Regions from separate parts of the Homo sapiens genome. Here region 1 is linked to region 2. The links are contacts of gene promoters, found by promoter capture Hi-C in blood cells and fetal thymus (Javierre and others, 2016). All regions are on one chromosome and are shown on one strand. Each heading gives the region's core, a stretch centred on a gene start or on the middle of the fragment in contact. The rest is flanking DNA. Distances are from core to core; before and after follow the strand shown. Region 1 overlaps TESK2 (testis associated actin remodelling kinase 2). Region 2 holds the start of MMACHC (metabolism of cobalamin associated C).

What was found. The method cuts DNA at HindIII sites, captures the fragments that hold promoters and counts their contacts. A CHiCAGO score of 5 or more calls a contact.
Region 1: a fragment that was not itself captured here is called in contact with the fragment with the promoter of MMACHC in region 2 in 1 of 17 cell types (naive B cells); the score reaches 5.1 in naive B cells.

The regions. Positions count from the first base shown.
Region 1 is chr1:45,407,272-45,413,483 of GRCh38, forward strand. The region is part of intron 3 of TESK2 (testis associated actin remodelling kinase 2); the gene reads right to left. Among named protein-coding and RNA genes, the nearest start is that of TOE1, 70 kb to the left of the region's middle. The HindIII fragment of the contact is 4,515 bases long and covers 2,096-6,212 here.
Region 2 is chr1:45,496,521-45,502,986 of GRCh38, forward strand. MMACHC (metabolism of cobalamin associated C) reads left to right here and starts at 3,780. Exons shown (of 4, transcript NM_015506.3): 1 at 3,780-3,893. The coding sequence starts at 3,813. It overlaps CCDC163 (CCDC163 homolog), which reads right to left and starts at 3,553. Exons shown (of 5, transcript NM_001102601.3): 1 at 3,012-3,553; 2 at 2,825-2,923; 3 at 779-863; 4 at 36-103. The coding sequence starts at 3,089. RefSeq lists enhancers at 3,493-4,025, 3,575-3,774. The HindIII fragment of the contact is 9,755 bases long and covers 1-5,030 here.

The sequences.
Region 1 (6,212 bases), core at 3,103-5,602, 89 kb before region 2:
TGCTGAGACAGGGTCCCACTATGTTGCCCAGGCTGGTCTCAGCCTCCCAAAGTGCTAGGATTATAGGTGTGAGCCACCGTGCCTGGCCAGCATTTACATTATTATGACTGATTATAATCACTATGAGGCCAAGTACTATATTATGATTTCACTTTATTTCTTCTATAATTGTTTGTATTTTACCCCTTTTTTCATTTGCTTAGTTATTACATGCTATCATGGTTTGGTTGTGTCCCACCCAAATCTCATCTTGAATTGTAGCTCCCATAATTCCCATTTTGGAGGGACCTGGTGGGAGGTAATTGAATCATGGGGACAGGTCTCTCCCATGCTGTTTTCGTGATAGTGAGTAAGTCTCACGATATCTGATAGTTTTATAAAGGGGAGTTCCCCTGCACATGTTCTCTTGCCTGCAGCCATGTAAGATGTCCCTGTGCTTTTCCTTCATCTTTTGCCATGACTGTGAGGCCTCCCCAGCCACGTGGAACTACGAGTCCATTAAACCTCTTTCCTTTATAAATTACCCAGTCTTGGGTGTGTCTTTATTAGCAGCATGAGAAAGGACTTATATGCATGCCTACTGCTACTTCTTTCCAAAGCCTCCAACAAAATTGTAAAATTCTTCTGAATATGGATTTCCACCCTGCCAAACATATCAGGAAATACATAAGTTCTTTCCTCACACCCCCACTTCCCAACATCTCTCCTGAATCTTGTAATCCTTCGAATCCAACCTGAACTGCTTATTTTGTAGACTGTTGCACAACAGTCATCCTGGGACTTCCCATTACCTTTATACCCACTTCTTTCTAGGTCTCAAGGCTTCCTTTTTATTTTTATTAGGGTGTTTTGTTTACTTCCCTGTTTTGAAGGGACACATCCTCCAATAGCATCATGAGAAGGGGCTCATGAGAGGCAAATTTTTTGACAATTTGCCTATCTAAAAATATCTTCACTCTACTCTCATGCTTGATTGGTAGTTCAGCTGGACATAGGATTCTAAGTAGGAAATCATTTTCTCTCAGAAAGCATCTTCCATTGCTCTAGCTTTTTTGTATGGGATTTTTTTTTAAATTTTTTCCTCTGTGGAAATGTTTAGAATATTTTTATTACCCATATTCTAAAATTTCATAATGATATGCTCTGGGTGGCTGTTTTTTCATTCATTGTGCTGGGCCCTTTCAATCTGGAAGCACATGTCCTTTGGTTCTCCCCTCCAGGTATTAGCCAGGCCCGGCACAATGGGTTAGTCTGCATACTGAATGGTGAGAACTCAAAGAGCATGAGCCTATGGCTCATATAAAAAATGTTTTAATTTTATTATATTGCCAAAGCCAAATACTTCTGAGAAAGGTTGTCATTTTTAAAAAACTGTCTTCCTTTATTTGGGTCTATTCATTTTCTCCAGGAAAAAATCCATCAATTTCCTGGCAAGTGGCAGGGTTGAGGGTAGGATAGGAATGATTCTTGCCTGCCTGAGAGCCAGGTGATGGAAGGTGACTAGAAGTCTTATGAGCCTCACCATTCCAGTATGCAGACTATCCCCCCATCTCCTCTTTTAGGTATTGCATTCTATCAGATGTTCACTAGTATGAAGTATTTCTGGTTCAATTTTTCTCCAAAAATAAACCATGTCTTATTGGGGTGGGTGATATTTAACTGATTAGTTACAAGAAATGGGGATGTTGACTTTCAGGCCCAGTTACCCCTTAAAAGACTTTGAATAGCCCTCTTATTTTTAGCCCAAGCCTGACACCCACCTTCAGTTCCTGAGCTTTTATAAGTTTCTGTGATGCAAACTGGCTTGGTTCTAATTGGCATCAGCTTCTAGAGATACTACACTATAGGCACTACAAATACAGTGGTGAAAAAGATAAACTTCTACCCTCAGAGAGCTCATTCAATACTGGAGGCTTTAAGCAATAGGTAAACAAATGAATAAGGTTCTTTTCAGAAGTAATGAGAACTTGTAACAAATATCGATGTCTATTTTAGACTAGTCAAAAAGATTTCTTTGAAGAGGGGCTATCTCAGCAGAAATATATCATATGATTCTGGAATAAAGTAAGTACAAAGGCCCTGAAGCAGGGAAAAAAGCTTAATGTGTCTGAGAAACAAGAGGGTTAGTGAGTGTGGTTAGAATGATGTAAGAAAAAGGAAGAATGATTGGAAATATGGTCAGAGCCACGTAGGCCAAATCATTTAGGGCCTGATAGGTTAAAGCCCAGAGTATGAACTTTGAAGAATGACAAAAAGCTGTATTAGGAAATTCAGCAGGGAAATGACATAATCTGATTTACCCTCTTAAAATTCAATCTGGCTATTGTGGGGTAAAAGGGGAAGACAAGAGATCAATTAGGATGGTTGGGCTAGAGTAGTAAGTGTAGAGGTAAAAAGACTCAGGACATATTTTGAAGATAATGCTGAACTACTTGATGGTTTGAAATAGGGTGTAAGAGAAAGATAATAAGAATGGTAAGTTTTTGGCTCAAGTGATGGATGAATGGTGGGAGAGGTCTGGAAAGAAGAAAGGGAATGCGGCAGGAAATTAATAGTGGTCCATAATGGGTACTCAATAATTAGTAATCATTGTTTATATTAAAAATCTTCAGCCAAGACACAGTGGCTCACACCTGTAATACCAGCACTTTGGGAGGCCAACGGGGGCAGATCACTTGAGGCCAGGAGTTTGAGACCAGCCTGGCCAACATGGTGAAATCCTATCTCTACTAAAAATACAAAAATTAGCTGGGTGTGGTGACACATGCCTGTAATCCCAGCTACTCGGGAGGCTGAAGCACGAGAACCTGGGAGGCGGAGGTTGCAGTGAGCAGAGATCATGCCACTGTACTCCAGCCTGGGTGACAGAGTGAGACTCTGTCTCAAAAAAAAATTAAGATCACCTTACAGTCTAGTGTTACAAAAGATGCTTTGTGAACTCTCTTGAGAGTCTTTCACCTAGTTACCCACCAGGATTACAATGATAAAATCAGAGAGATCCACTTTATTATTTTTTTTTCAACCTTCAACAGATGCAAAAAAACATTTTAGGCTGGGAGCAGTGGCTCACGCCTGTAATCCCAGTACTTTGGGAGGCCGAGGCAAACGGATCACCTGAGGTTAGGAGTTCGAGGCCAGCCTGGCTAACATGGTGAAACCCTGTTTCTCCTAAAAATACAAAAAATTAGCTGGGCATGGTGGCGCGTGCCTGTAATCCCAGCTACTCGGGAGGCTGAGGCAGGAGAATCACTTGAACCTGAGAGGCAGAGGTTGTAGTAAGCTGAGATTGCACCATTGCACCCCAGCTTGGGCAACAAGAGCGAAACTCCAACTCAAAAAAAAAAAATTTTTTTTTAAAACACTGCCCATTTATTCTGGAACACACTCCACATCCACATTCACTCACCCTTAAGATATTTTAAAAACCTGATTATTTAAAAATTGTTCAACATTTAATTCAATGTGATTTCTTATTTATATATTTATTTATTTTATTTTTTATTTTTTTTTTAACATACATGGTCTCACTATATCACCCAGTCTGTGTTTCAGTGGCACAACTGAAACCACCTTTGCAAAAGAGAAATCTGACATCGTTAACTCTATCTTGCCTCCAACCTCAAGCTGTTTGTCTTTGGTCATTCCTGGGCATAGGCCAAGCTAACTTTGGGAGGAATTTAGTTTACAGTTTAACCTTAAAGCAAGGATGATAATAGCCCTTCCCAAAACTAAACTACCTTTGTAAAACTAAGGAAAGGCCACAAGGTTAGGATTATGGGAGGGGAGAGAATTCTGCTAAAATGTAGGTATAGTTCTACAATTTCTTACTGCTTGGGAGTCATGTGGCTAGAGATCACAAGATTTGTGACTTCTCCAACTGCTCCTATAGATAACATCACTATTATAGAACCTAAGACTGGTTTTCTGAGAGATTTTTTTCAGACCAACCCCACCCAGACTCATGACTCATGACTCAACTGGTCCTGTAGCCCAGCCTTCCCCAACCTTTTTGGCACCAGGGACTGGTTTTGTGGAAGACAATTTTTCCACAGACTCGGGTGAGGGTCAGGTGGAGGGATGGTTTTGGGATGAAACTGTTCCACCTGAGATCATCAGGCATTTGATTCTCATAAGGGACGTGCAACCAAGATCCCTCGCATGCACAGTTCACAACAGGGTTCACGCTTCTATGAAAATATAATGCCACCGCTGATCTGACAGGAAGCAGAGCTCAGGCAGCAATGCTTGCTCACCTGTTCACCTCCTGCTGTGTGGCCCAGTTCCTAACAGGCCACAGGCTGATACCGGTCCATAACCTGGGGGTTGAGGACTCCTGCTGTAGCCCTACACAGAGGCACACTCAGCGCACAAGGACTTTTCCACACCCCCAATTAATCAGCAGCACCCATTCCCTCAGCCCTGCCCACCAAATTGTCCATAAAAACTCTAACCTCTAGAGGGCTTCAGGAAGACTGATTTAAGTGATAACTGCCTCTTTGGCATGGCTGGCCTTGAGTCAATTAAACTCTTTCTTACTGCAATGCCACGATCTCAGGGAATTGATTTTGTCTGTGCAGCTGGCAGGAAGAAGCCATCATAGCTCACTACTCCTAGGCTCAAATGGATCCTCCCGCCTCAGTCTCCCAAGTGCTCAGATTATAGGTGTAAGCCACCATGCCCTGCCTCAGTGTGATTTCTAACAACTGATCTGGTCCATTCTCATTAAACAGAAGAAATCAAAGCACAGAGGTTAAATAACTTGTCCTAGAGAATATAATTAGGAAATTGTGGAGCTGTGTGAATTGTACAAGAGAAAGAGTGGAAGAAAAGGCTGGAAAAACAGACTGAACCTTAACTGTCAGTCTAAATAATTTTTGACTCGATTTTGAAACCAATGTGAGCCACAAAAAGTTTTAAGAAATAAACTATACAACCAGAGCTGAGTATCAGGAAGAGTGAAAAAGGGCAAAGAGACAGGGAAAATAATTCACTCCAGGTGAAAGTGAAGAAGGCTGAATTACAGCCCACATATACGGGAAGGAATAGATGCAAAAGCCTTTGAATATTTAGAATCACAGCTTAGCTTCTCATTAGAAGCAAGGAATACATGATAACCAAAAATGGCTGGAATTTTTCAGGATGGATAACTGGAAAGATGGCTGTCTTAATAACTGAGACTGGGAAAATATCCTGCCATATTCTCACAGCATTAGCTAATGCTAGTCTATTTCCTACATAGTATAATTTACTTCTTAAGGAGACTCTCTGGGAGACAAGAAGCCTCTATTTCTCTTGCATTAATCATGATATTACCTAGCACAGGGAGGGACTGAGTAGTTCCAAGCAAATATTTGTGAATTGAAGGCATAGTCTTCAATTTCATATTTGGTGAATTGAAGGCATATTTGGTGAATTGAAGGAGTCTAAAAGAAATATTAAATTTCTCATGGCATAAATAACAGAGAGACCCAGTGCAGTGGCTCAAGCCTATAATCCCAGCATTTTGGGAGGCCGAGGTGGGAGGATTGCTTGAGCTCAGGAGTTCGAGACCAGCCTGGGCAATATAGTGAGAACTTTCTCTACAAAAAAATTTTCAAAGTTAGCCAAGTGTGGCGGCATACGCCTGCAGTCCCAGCTACTCAGGAGGCTGAGGTGGGAGGATTGCTTGAGCCCAGAAGGCAGAGATTGCAGTGAGCCTGGGCAACAGAGTGAGGCCCTGTCTTGGGGTCGTGGGGAGGTATGAGAACAAATCTGAGTGTATAGTTCCTCAAAAAGGCCACTGGGGAGTGGAAGTGAGTGGGGCATAGAACTGGGTTACAGATCTTGAGCATAAGACTTCCTGGCGTAAACAACCTTATTCACAAGAGACCTAAACAATCAGTCCCTGCATTCAACAAAGTACTTTATTGTTCCTTTTTTTAACTGATAACTTTGAGCAACTGATGATAAAATAACCAATCTTCACTGGGCCCATGTATAAACAGAATACACACACATGAACAAAATTTACACAAGTACTACCTCTATGACTTACCAGGCCCACACTTTTCCTCCCAAATAGAAATCTTAGGAGGAAGGGAGATAAAGGGAAAAAGGGAAACTAGGAGGTTGGGGTCAAGAAAAAGAGAACTACAAAGGTTCAGCTCACTCACTCCTGCTGGGCACACAATAGCTCTGGCAGAAGAGAACCAAGGTATGCCCAGAGGATTAAA
Region 2 (6,466 bases), core at 2,530-5,029:
GAAATATGCAGAGACAAGTCTGAACCTAGTCCTACCTTCCAACTGCCAACCTGAGCCTGTCGTCCCTCAGCCAGCTGTTTCAGCAGCAGCTCCTGGTGCTGGCCTGCAGATGAGAGAGAATGTAAGGGGGCTGTTCCCCAACTTCTTTCCTTCTCCCTCCCTGCCTGTGACCAGCCTGCTGCCAAAAACTGAGACAGAAACATTCTGGCTCAGCCATTGGGACGCTTCCAAGCTGACTGAAGAGATTAAACTCACACCATGAGAGACAAAGAGTGCAACAAAATACTTGGCCACACTTCTCAGTAGCTCAGGCAGTTGGAGCCATGGCCACTTAATGGGAGAGCAAGAAGACTTTCCAGGCCAGGCGCAGTGGCTCACACCTGTAATCCCAGCACTTTGGGAGGCCAAGGCAGGCGGATCATCTGAGGTCAGGAGTTCGAGACCAGCTCGGCCAACATGGTGAAACCCCATTTCTACTAAAAATACTAAAAATATGAAAAAAAGTGGCTGGGCATGGTGGCGGGCACCTGTAATCCCAGCTACTCAGGAGGCTGAGGCAGGAGAATCGCTTGGACTCGGGAGGCAGAGGTTGCAGTGAGCCAAGATTGCGCCATTGCAACACAGCCTTGGCAACAGGCAACAGAGCGAGGCTGGGCAACAGAGCAAGACTCCATCTCAAAAAGAATAAAAATAAATAAAAATAAATAAAAGAAGAAGATGACTTTCCAGAAAAGGGGACAAGGAAACGCATATTCGCCCCCAACCACCTTTTACTTACTCAACTGGTACTGCAGCAACTTCAATTCCTTCTGCATAATCTCTGACTCCTCCCACAGCACTGCAGGAGTGACAGCAGTGCTATTCTAAAGTCAATCAACAAATCCAGAGTAAGAAGGCAAGTAGAGTATCTAGGGTCTTGTGAAACTCTTAGAGAGGATGATCCCCAACTTGTCCCACTACAAATGCCAAAAGTTCAAAGGCCTCAAGAAGGCAAGGCCGCACTCAGTGCTCAATGGCGCCCAGGCTGGAGTGCAGTGGCGTGATCTCGGCTCGCTACAACCTCCACCTCCCAGCCGCCTGCCTTGGCCTCCCAAAGTGCCGAGACTGCAGCCTCTGCCCGGCCGCCACCCCGTCTGGGAAGTGAGGAGCGTCTCCGCCCGGCAGCCACCCCGTCCGGGAGGGAGGTGGAGGGGGTCAGCCCCCCGCCAGGCCAGCCGCCCCGTCTGGGAGGGAGGTGGGGGTGTCAGCCCCCCGCCCGGCCAGCCACCCCATCCGGGAGGTGAGGGGTGCCTCTGCCCGGCCACCCCTACTGGGAAGTGAGGAGCCCCTCTGCCCGGCCACCACCCCGTCTGGGAGGTGTGCCCAACAGCTCATTGAGAACGGGCCAGGATGACAATGGCGGCTTTGTGGAATAGAAAGGGGGGAAAGGTGGGGAAAAGATTGAGAAATCGGATGGTTGCCGTGTCTGTGTAGAAAGAAGTAGACATGGGAGACTTTTCATTTTGTTCTGTACTAAGAAAAATTCTTCTGCCTTGGGATCCTGTTGATCTGTGACCTTACCCCCAACCCTGTGCTCTCTGAAACATGTGCTGTGTCCACTCAGAGTTAAATGGATTAAGGGCGGTGCAAGATGTGCTTTGTTAAACAGATGCTTGAAGGCAGTATGCTCATTAAGAGTCATCACCACTCCCTAATCTCAAGTACCCAGGGACACAAACACTGCCGAAGGCCGCAGGGTCCTCTGCCTAGGAAAACCAGAGACCTTTGTTCACTTGTTTATCTGCTGACCTTCCCTCCACTATTGTCCTATGACCCTGCCAAATCCCCCTCTGTGAGAAACACCCAAGAATGATCAATAAAAGAAAAACAAACCCAAAAAAAAAAAAAAAAAAAAAGAAGGCAAGGTCTTGACTATCCCTTACTCAGTCTGCAGCTCCTGAGGAAGGCCATTGGTAGTACTGCATTCTCCTGGTCCTGTTTGCATCTGGGCTTGGGCTTGGGCTTGGGTTTGCTCCCACACCTGGCTCTGAAGGCCCTGCAGTTCCTTTCTCAGCTCCTCCAGGCATTGCTCCAGGAGAAAAGCACTCCCCTTTGGGGCCCCCTGCAGCAACCTTAGTGATGCTGTAGTGGGACAAGTTAGGGATCATCCTCTCTAAGAGTTTCACAAGACCCTAGATACTCTACTTGCAAAACAAGACACATGTGCACACACAACAGGTGTGTGGCAAAATTGTGTGCATACATATGAAGCTGTGTATATGAAGAAAATAACTGGCCAGATACCTTCCAGGACACTGATCTGGTACTTCTGCTGCTCTCGCTCTTCTAGCAGGCCCTGCACTGCCTGCCTTAGTGCCTGTCACCTCCCCAGGCAGAAAAAAGCACATGAACTACTGTATAACAGCTTTTCCCGACCCCTAGTATCCTCATCTTACACAAACATCACATATACACACCAAGGATTCCAAGCCTCACCTGAGCCTGACATTGAAATTAGGATCAGAGAATAGCAACCTCACCCCAGAGAGAGGATGGGCTCTAGGACTCAGGGCAGCTCAGCCTTTGTGGAACTATGGGAGTCTCTAAAGCCCAAGGCTGTTGAGCTTGGACTCCTGACTGCAGAGGCAAGTGATGAGAGGAAATCCAGGTCCCAGCCAGGTCCCCGGCTGAGGAAATAAGGAAGGGTTAAGTGCAGGGTCTGTGTGGGGAAACAGAGTTCAGGAAAGGACAGAGTTGGAATTTGGAAGGAATAATGGATGATACGGGCACTGGAGGAAGGCACAGAAAGAGAAAGGGCTTGGAAGTAGAAAGAGACATTACTTACCTGCGGTGGAGACCCCAAGAAGATACAGCCACTGCTACAGAAGAAACAGATGCACAGGCCAATGAGCTCTGTGGAGACCCCAAGAGGATACAGCCACTGCTACAAAAGAAACAGATGCACAGGCCAATGAACTCTGAGAGTCCCTTAGCCTCCCCACGCAAACTGGGGACCTCCACCAACCCCTCACCTTATTCCGGACCACATTTCCATCAGTAGCGTTGAGAAGCACATCCAGCTGCTCAAACCAGCTGAGGCTCGTATTCATATCCTGTGGCAGGGGAGCGGCAGGGGTCTGGCTCCCTGGTGTCTTGTGCTTGCTCTCCTAGCGGGGGATACCCAAGGTATCCCCAGGAAAGGCCACCACGTTAGATGGAAAGAGGGAAGTGGGGATGCAACACTGGGGTAGGTGGATGCACTATCAGACCAAAACTGCGATCCTGTGACTAGGGAAAGGAAGGACGCTCTTGGGGAACTGGGGGAAAAGCGGGATACCGTGATGATACGCAGATATCAGGTGGGGATTGAAGGTGCCAGAACCTGGTTGAGACCTCCCCAGAAGTAGTACACTGGCGCCACCACGCCAAACCTGTGCCAGTGACAACTGCCGCCGCCGGGTTCAAAACTTCGGGTTGGTTTTGAAAGTCCGACTTTGGACTGGCTGCCGCAGCGCCACCTGGGAAACTGAGGTCGCCTCTTGCGAACACAACCGGCGATGGAGGCGGTGGAACTACCTTTCTCTAGAAGAGACACGTACATGCACACCCCCACCGTGTAGCTTGCCGGGAAACTGAGTCTTCCTGATTTCGTGTGGCTGTCTCCAAGGAGGAAACGAACTACGCATCCCAAGATGCATCGCGCATAGGCAATATGGTCCCGCTACTGGACCCATTTCCTACCTGGGAAATGGAGTCGAAGCTGACTCAAAACGTAACGGCCCAATTGTCCTTGAGACTTCATTCCCCAGCAAGCTCAGCGTGTAACGTGCGCTATGGAGCCGAAAGTCGCAGAGCTGAAGCAGAAGATCGAGGACACGCTATGTCCTTTTGGCTTCGAGGTTTACCCCTTCCAGGTTAGTTTATCCCTCCTGCTGTTCTAGGGCGAAATATATGATTGGCTTCGTTGCAACTGGCGTGAGGCCTCGGGAGCCTCTGATCCTCCTGGGTTCCTGCAGCCCAGTGTCCATGTGACAACAGGGACAGAGTTTCAGTGGGGGCTTGGGTTAAAAAGGTAGTGGTCGAGGCCGGGCATGGTGGCTCACGCCTGTAATCCCAGCACTTTGGGAGGCCGAGGCGGGCGGATCACCTGAGGTGAGGAGTTCGAGACCAGCCTGGCCAACATGGTGAAACCCCATCTCTACTAAAAATATAAAATTAGCCGGGCGTGGTGGTGCATGCCTGTAATCCCAGCTACTCGGGAGGCTGAGGCAGGACAATTGCTTGAACCCATGAGACGGAGGTTGCAGTGAGCCGAGATTGCGCCATTGCAGTCCAGCCTGAGCAACAAAGAGCGAAACTCCGTGTCAAAAAAAAAAAAAAAAAAAAAAGTTGTCGCATGTTTAACCTTTTGCCACCATATAATGCCGGATTCGTTAACGGGAGACACCATATGACCTGTAGCGTGTGTGGCTCAGATTGTCACCTATATAATTTACAAGAAGAAAGGGACCTGTGAGGCAAAGTCACCTTGGAACTTCCTAAAGGATTTAGGAGAGGGCAAAGCCTAGAAGGTTTGCATAGCTATCATTTAGGTCAGCTGAGGAAGGAAGGGCATTCCTGGTGATGAACAGGCAAACAATTGGCTGGTTTGTTCCCTCTACCAACAGAAGGATAATTCATGATATTTCCAGTCATCAGTGCTGGGCTGGGTAATGAAACTTTGTACACTTGCCTGGCACAGCAGTCTCAGCACCGCACCCCGACCCCCATTTACACGGTTACATTTCCCCACATCAGTGCCCTGTGCACTGAGCAGTTAAGTTACAAAGCTAAATCAGCTCAGCTTGAGCCCTTTGCCTGATGCTTAAGAGACTACCCACTTCCCATTCCTTCTGCTGAGTGGCTCACAGCAGTCCTGGGAGAGGATATAGAGGGAGAAGTAGGTTGGGTCTAGCTTGAGACTGGTCTTGCCAGAAAAAATGGAATTGAGCTATATATGAAAAGATAGATTGGAAGGAAGGAGGGTTATGTACATCCCAAATATCAGAAAAAGCTTGAGTAAAGGTGTGGAGATAGTGGTGTGGTGTTACCAAGTAAAAGGGCTTGATGCCTGATGTGCTGGAAGCTAATATTATGACACTGGGTTTTTGAGAAAACAAAAGCTATTTGTTGCAGATCGACCTTTAACTCTTTGAGACACCGTTTCAGTGGATGGCAGGTGTGTGGGAGAGTGAGAATGCCTATCTGGCAAGTTGAGTAGACCTGGGTATTAGGAGCTTTTGTACTGAACAAAGCCAACTGCAGCCCTGCCAGTCACCCTAGGCTCCTACCTCTCACCTCCCTACCCCCACATCCAATCAGCCACCAAGACCTATAAGACTGTCTACTGAATCTCCCAAATCCATTCCCTTGTATTCCACCCATCTATGCTGTGGTCCAGGCCACCATTTCTCACTTGGATTACTGTAATAACCTCCTTGCTGTAATTTTACCTCCAGTCCCTCCTCCACACTGCAGCCAGTGTGATCTAAAAATGATCATGCTAGTTTACTCCTTAAATCTTCAGTGGCTCTTCACTGTCACCAAATTAAATCCATATTCCTTAAATTGGTATTCAAAGCCAATCAAAATCTCACTCCTATTGATCTCTCCAGCCTTCTCTCCCTCTGATTCCCTCTACAGACCCTTCACTTCCACCAAACTAGACAATTCTCAAATATACCCAGGAATTTTCTGCCAGTGTGTTTGCTTATGCTGTGACTTGTTTATTTTATTCTTTATTTATTTAGAGACAAAGTCTCACTCTGTCCTCCCGGCCGGAGTGCAGTGGTGCAATCATAGCTCACTGCAGCCTCAAACTCCTGGGCTCAAGTGATCCTCCCACTTTAGTCTCCCAAGTAGCTGACTCCAGGCATGCACCAACACTCAGGGTCTCACTTTGTTGCCCTGGCTGGTCTTGAACTCCTGGCCTCAAGTGATCCTCCTGCTTCGGCCAGCCACCCAAAGCACTGGGATTACAGGCATGAGTCACCGCACTCAGTCTGTGACCTCTTTTTAAAATACACACCAGTGAGTTTATGTGTTTTTTGGTGAAATATAAATAATAAATAAATGCACACCAGATTCTCCTCCCTACATCAACCTGACAGTTGACCAGTTGACTTTCTAGCCTTCAAGACTTAGCATCCAAGGAAGCCTTTTCTTTTCTTTTTTTTTTTTTTTGAGATGGAGTTTCGCTCTTGTTGCCCAGGCTGGAGTGCAATGGTGCGATCTCAGCTCACCACAACCTCTGCCTCCCGGGTTCAAGTGATTCTCCTGCCTCAGCCTCCAGAGTAGGTAGGATTACAGGCATGTGCCAACATACCCGGCTAATTTTGTATTTTTTTTAGTAGAGACAGTTTCTCCATGTTGGTCAGGCTGGTCTTGAACTCCCGACCTCAGGTGATCTGCCTGCGTTGGCCTCCCAAAGTGCTGGAATTACAGGCAT